Linked DNA regions of Homo sapiens: region 1 is linked to region 2. Evidence: promoter capture Hi-C in 16 types of primary human blood cells and fetal thymus (Javierre and others, 2016). All regions are on one chromosome and are shown on one strand. Each heading gives the region's core, a stretch centred on a gene start or on the middle of the fragment in contact. The rest is flanking DNA. Distances are from core to core; before and after follow the strand shown. Region 1 overlaps RBM14-RBM4 (RBM14-RBM4 readthrough). Region 2 holds the start of RBM4B (RNA binding motif protein 4B).

The links. The method cuts DNA at HindIII sites, captures the fragments that hold promoters and counts their contacts. A CHiCAGO score of 5 or more calls a contact.
Region 1: a fragment that was not itself captured here is called in contact with the fragment with the promoter of RBM4B in region 2 in 4 of 17 cell types (naive CD4 T cells, total B cells, total CD8 T cells and 1 more); the score reaches 6.9 in naive CD4 T cells.

The regions. Positions count from the first base shown.
Region 1 is chr11:66,616,894-66,620,262 of GRCh38, reverse strand. It overlaps RBM14-RBM4 (RBM14-RBM4 readthrough), which reads right to left. Exons shown (of 2, transcript NM_001198846.2): 1 at 3,206-3,369. RBM14 (RNA binding motif protein 14) reads right to left here. Exons shown (of 3, transcript NM_006328.4): 1 at 3,206-3,369. Among named protein-coding and RNA genes, the nearest start is that of RBM14-RBM4, 1.9 kb to the right of the region's middle. RefSeq lists an enhancer at 2,750-3,369. The HindIII fragment of the contact is 1,383 bases long and covers 1,007-2,389 here.
Region 2 is chr11:66,676,552-66,679,770 of GRCh38, reverse strand. RBM4B (RNA binding motif protein 4B) reads left to right here and starts at 1,884. Exons shown (of 4, transcript NM_031492.4): 1 at 1,884-2,007; 2 at 2,680-3,103. The coding sequence starts at 2,692. RefSeq lists silencers at 1,682-1,961, 2,162-2,271. The HindIII fragment of the contact is 1,797 bases long and covers 1,074-2,870 here.

The sequences.
Region 1 (3,369 bases), core at 449-2,948, 59 kb after region 2:
GATACAATTATAACCAAATTGTATCAGGAAGTTTCTAAGCCTGACACTGGAGGGGAAAAGTGTGAATAGGTTGCCCAGCTAACTCAACTGCATCCTGTAGTGATAAGCCCCATCACAGTAAGTGCAAAGCACAGACCTAGCTAGATTAAAGATGCCCTAACACCCAAGTACTCCTAAGACCATTAAAACCAGAGATCTGAAAAATTCCAGGAACCTTCTTGCCCACAGATCTAATTCAAGGAAACTCTGAAGGAAATCACTGCATTGGGACTATCAAGTAATGTTTTACAGAGATCTCCAAATGGTCTGGTGGCATCACAAGTCCTCCAGTAACAAAGTTAAGTGAATCCAGAAAAACAAGTTCTCCTATCTTAAGACTAAAAATCTTAAACTTGAGGGCTAGGCGCGGTGGCTTGCGCCTGTAATCCCAGCACTTTGGGAGGCTGAGGCAGGCGGATCACAAGGTCAGGAGATCGAGACCATCCTGGCTAACACAGTGAAACCCCGTCTCTACTAAAAATACAAAAAATTAGCTGGGTGTGGTGGCGGGCGCCTGTAGTCCCAGCTACTCGGGAGGCTGAGGCAGGAGAATGGCGTGAACCCAGGAGGCGGAGCTTGCAGTGAGCCGAGATGGCGCCAGTGCACTCCAGCCTGGGCGACAGAGCCAGACTCCGTCTAAAAAAAAAAAAAAAGAAAAAGAAAAAATCTTAAACTTGAAACTACAGAGCTCTGTATAGGAAGAAGAAACAGTCACTCACAAAAATGAAGAGAAGATATTTTCCTCTTTTGTCTTTCAGATCTCCCCACAAGTCTGTACATGTTTCCGGAAGCTGTTCATCTTTGAACACCCAATAGGAGGAAGCTGTGGAGTGGTTACAATCCACTGTTGCTATTGAGATTTCTGTTCTACAAATCCTATCTAAGCTCCTGGAGTAACCAAGCAACTATGTTGTTTTTTTTTCCTGTGAAATAAAACAGAGCTGGTTGTCTGGTGCAACACCAAGCTTCTGTGCTTTTCAAAGCCCTGTCAGCCAACACAAGGAGACTCAATCAAATGACCATTCCCAGCATAAGAAATGAGTACGCTCTTTAGAGAGCCAGTCGCTTCTACTACACTCCCAACTTTCAACCCTCACTTTCCGTCATCACAAACAGATAAAAAGACATCAGTGGAGGATATGATGTTCAAATCTTTCCCAGTCTCTTACATCGAAGTATGTCAGGAGCTCTGTTACACAACAATGTAACTGCAAATAGTTGACCACCACTCCCGGAGTAAGTCAATGCATTTTTGCTAATCAAATGTTTACAAAGGAACAAGATGCACAAAACTCCGTCTAACTCTCACAAGGAGTCAGCCAGGAGTTCTAAAAATTCATGTGCAGTTATGCACTTCACCCGCATCGTCACTTGGTGTTGGGTCCCAAGCAAATTTCAGGCAAATTTTTGACTTTCTCTACCACCTGAAAGCCAGCAAGAAGCCTGAGTTCCAGGGAGACTGTCCCTTCAGATGTTTGACTCTAGACTCTCAACCTAGTAGCCACTCTACCTAACAACCACAAAAGAAACTTGGTAAGTCAATTAAACACAAAACTCTCACAAATGAGACTCATATACCCCACCCTTTTGCTGGACAAGTACCCAATCTGAGACCCTCCCCCACCACTCTTTTACTCTAAACAAAAGCAAAAATCCATGCACCATACAGCCTGCCTCAGAGCACCCAGCAGGAAAGCCCGATTCCGGATAGTCGTGGACTTGTATAACCTGAGTTGAGGAAAATAGAATGCAGTATTAATGCAGAACAAGGACTTGTTCCTAGTAGTGGACACTATGACCCTTTATATTTCCCCCACTTAAAGGACTAGGAATGGCCCCAAACATGTGCCTTTCCAGGACAGCAAATGAAATATCTTGGTGGGATAAATAAGCACTTGCACCCACATTTATTTCCTATCCCTGAAACTTCTCACACAGGGTATGAGCAGGTATGAACCCACCAGGAGTAGGGCATCAGATACTCCCAGGCTGCATCTTCCAAAATGACAGGGCAAAGTTAACTCTGATCTGTTCCCAAGTGGAGCAGAGACTGGCCACATACACAACGGCTGTCCCACCAAATCTTGCCAATGTAAAAGATAAAGAGCTTAAGGGATAAAAACTCAAGCTATGAAAAAGTCAACTGGGTCCCTAGTCAGGCTTAAATTATGGTGACACATTTTTCTCGAAGAAAAGGCACCGGGATCTGCCCTGAGAATCAGACTACTCAAGCAATGACTACTACTGATTCAGTAAACCGTGTTTAGCCACTGTTTAATGAAGAGCTCTCACAGACCCCTCCCCAGGACCCCCTCAGCCAGAGTATGCCCCCCTGCAAAGTCACCAAGCTTATAAAAGAATGACACTGCCCTAGGGCACTGGCTTGGCATGTAAAGACTACGCAGAAGGGGACTTCATAAAACAAGCTTTCTTGCACATGCAAAAGGCTGGGGTTTCCAGTTGACAGATGTAAAATCGAGCCCAAAGAAAAACCCCAAGTTTGAGGGAGGAGAAAAGCACAGAGCTGCCACGCCTAACCTACCTAATATTGAAAGGCCAAAGTGATTCGGAAGGGGCCCCTCTCGTACCCACGTGTAACTGTGCCCATGAGTAGACCCATGCCAGACAAGACTAAAAGACCCCAGCCCGAGAAACGTCCAAGGGCCCCGTTACCTTCCGCTTGAGCACATTCATCGGGAGGGAACAGGAGGGCGGCCTTGGGGCGTCAGCCCCCACCTTTTCCCTCTTCCCTTGCTCTGACCGACGTCTGGAGAGGAAGTGGGGAAGTGGAGAAATCTTCCCCGCTTCATGATCCGGCTTGTGCCCGTCACTTCCCAATTTCCGCTGGGTGCCAGGCCCAGGAGACCAGGAGAAGGCGCGCCCCCGGAACACTCGCAAGGCTCTCAGGCGCGTCCCCGGCCCCGTAGCTTGGCTCGCAGTGGCCGCCGCACCCACCCAGAGCCGCTTCCTCCTACTTGGTGGACGGTTCCTGGACCGCAGGGGAGGAGGGTGGCTCTACCCAACGCGCCCCCAACACCTCCGACCTGCTCCCGCGCACTTCCCCACCCCTCCCAACCGCGCAGTGACCGACCCCCGGGTAAGGGGCGTGGCTAACAGGCAGAGTGCCCCGAGCGCGCCCCCGCCCCCGAGCGCGCCTCCGCGTTACCTTTCACCACGTCACACTCGATGACGCGTCCGCGGCGCTCGAAGAGGCTGCGCAGTTCCTGGCTCGTGCATGCAGCCGACACATTGCCCACGAAAATCTTCCAAGTATTAAGAGGCCTTGGGCGCGACATCTCCACCACGAGCGCGCGCCCCGGCCGCAGCTCG
Region 2 (3,219 bases), core at 635-3,134:
AAAAAATTTAAATTAGCTGGATGGGGTGGCCCACACCTGTGGTCCCAGCTGCTCCAGAGGCTAAGATAGGAAGATCACTTGCGCCTGCGAGGTCGAGGCTACAGTGAGCCATAATGGTGCCACTGCACTCTAGCCTGGACAACAAAGTGACACCCTGACTCAAAAATAATAGTAATAATAGTTAAGGGCCGGGCGAGGTGGCTCACGCCTGTAATCCCAACACTTTGGGATGCCAAGGCCAGCGGATCGCTTGAGGTCGGGAGTTCGACACCAGCCTGGCCAACACGGTGAAACCCTGTCTCTACTAAAAATACAAAAATTAGCTGGGGGGTAGCGCACGCCTGTAGTCCCAGCTACTCGGGAGGCTGAGGCAGGAAAATGGCTTGAACGCAGGAGGTGGAGGTTGCAGTAAGCCGAGATCGCACCACTGCCCTCCAGCCTGGGCGACACAGTGAGACTCTGTCTTTAAAAAATTAAACAAAAAATAAAAATAAAATAAAATTGGAAGGACAGTGCCTCTTCTGAAATGGCTGAGAAACAAAAAGAACTCAGGTAAAGAACATATCCAAGTAGCTGGGGTGGAAGAGGGCAGCCTGGGGAATGTGTCCCAGATGGTATCAGAGAAGCCATTATGGAGCCACTAAAATGAGGAATGGTGGCTGACAACCTCCCTGGCGGGCTCTACTAGGAGATAAACCCAATCCATCAATCTCCATAAAAGGCTACTCTTTGCTGGAAGGTGACAGTGGGGAATCAGCCTAAACTTCTTTTTTTTTTTTTTTTGAGACCGAGTCTTGCTCTGTCACCCAGGCTGGAGTGCAGTGACGCCATCTCGGCTCACTGCAACCTCCGCCTCCCGGGTTCCAACGATTCTCCTGCCTCAGCCTCCCGAGTAGTTGGGATTACAGGCGCCCGCCACCACGCCGGGCTATTTTTTGTATTTTTAGTAGACACGGGGTTTCACCATGTTGGCCAAGCTGGTGTCGAACTCCTGAACTCGTGATCCGCCCGCCTTGGCCTCCCAAAGTGCTGGGATTATAGGCGTGAGCCGCCGCACCTGGCACGCCTAAGCTTGTTTTTACCGCCAGGAGGTGCCCTTGGACCACAGCTGAATTTTGAATGCTAGACAGTCGGGAAACTCAGTTGCCTAGACTTCCAGCTTGGTGTGTACGAGGAGACCCTGTCCCACCCAGAACTAGGGACCTCGCTGGGCCTCTCCACCAAGTATTCCTCTGGCGTGCTCACCACAGACCAGGACTGTGATGGACACACAATGAGTGAGAGAGAATCAGACCACGGATACTCACGAGCAAACAAAACATGACTAAGCGTAGCCTGGGTAGCAATGCCTCTTAGGCCTGTCCCAGTTCTGCCAGGTTATCTTTCTGCCCCTTGGTTCTCAGTTTCCGTAGCAATAAATAACACCTCTGCAATGACAAACTTTAAAATAATGTTTAAAGCGCTACAAAACAATGACTAGTTTTGCTTAAAATGTGGCGCACCTGTATTTTTGAAATGTTGCCCCAAGCTGCCACAGAAGCCGGCCAGCCCGCTACAAAAGCCCCTTTTTAGGGCCCTCGGGGAGATTCCTCTGTCATTAGCTCCCCGCCCCCCTCAAAGGGCCCAAGAGCAGGACCCATTGTGGTGAGCGACTCCCCAAGGCCTCCGCTTTTCTAGGCAGTGGTTGCGTTCAGAGCCCCTCTGACGCAGCAGTGGCGACCCTTTCCAGGGTGGTGACTGGCTGGCTGGGGCTGGGGGTGGGCTGACCTCCGCGGCGCCGCGCCACCACCAACAGGCCCCGCCCCCGTGCTGCGTGGTCATTTGTATGCAGCCTCGGGATTGGTCACTCGGCTCCCGCGAGGGGAAGGGGAGGGAAGCAGCGCGCACTCGCGCGTGCGTGAGCTGGCGCGCGAGAAAGGGCCCGGTCGCGTCCAGGCTCGAGCGGCCGTCGCCATTTTGTAAGGTTCTCTCTGACGTGGGAGCCGCCGTCGCTGCCGCCACCCGGAGGTGCGAGGGGGTCGTGTGTGTGTGATGTGGGGAGCTCGGGGGCGGGTCGGGCCGGGCCTCCGGCAGACTGCACGGCCCGGATTTGGGTTTCTCATTTTGCAGCGGGAGGTCTGGGAAGACAACGGGAGGAGGCGGGGCCGGGTCTCCGGAAGGAGGCGGGGCAGGGGTCGGGTCGAGTCTTTGTTGGGGCGAAGAAGCTGGAGGGTGGGCCGCTGGGGGCGAGGTGGTTGGTCCCCGGTTTGGGGGAAAGGGGACTTTTTTCTTTTTAGAGTATCTTGAAAGGCGCTAGTGCGCGCAGGAGAGGTACACAGATTTCCCTCCAAAACCTTGTTACCAGGCGCACTGCGATTGATGCCCCTTGCCTTTGCTTGGGCTTTTCTCTTCCCTCATTTTAAGACATGAAGCAGCTAATTCTGGTATTTCATTGCGCTCCACTTCACGGAGATGATAGACTGGGCTATGCATGCTGACCCTCGACCTCCTGTTTGCATGTCACGCATAGCTCGCACTTCTCGAGAACAAACCGCCCTTCTTCTATTGAGGAAGAATAATGAATGTCTGTACGAGGGTCTTGAAGGTGCAAGAACTTTGGAGGATTAGACGAAAATGCTGCAGTGCACCGAAATTTCCCACCACACCCCTGACTTTTGAAGTCTTGTGTTTCTCTCCCAGGCTCTTGTCAGGATGGTGAAGCTGTTCATCGGAAACCTTCCCCGGGAGGCTACAGAGCAGGAGATTCGCTCACTCTTCGAGCAGTATGGGAAGGTGCTGGAATGTGACATCATTAAGAATTACGGCTTTGTGCACATAGAAGACAAGACGGCAGCTGAGGATGCCATACGCAACCTGCACCATTACAAGCTTCATGGGGTGAACATCAACGTGGAAGCCAGCAAGAATAAGAGCAAAGCTTCAACCAAGTTACACGTGGGTAACATCAGCCCCACTTGTACCAACCAAGAGCTTCGAGCCAAGTTTGAGGAGTATGGTCCGGTCATCGAATGTGACATCGTGAAAGATTATGCCTTCGTACACATGGAGCGGGCAGAGGATGCAGTGGAGGCCATCAGGGGCCTTGACAACACAGAGTTTCAAGGTGAACTGCTCTGGGCCTGGGTAGTAGCGCCGAGTGGGGTCTAGCTCAAAACAGGCAAGAACACAAGACTATAGAACTTGCTGGGTGGTCTCTTCCATTCTGTTTTAGCTGGAAAT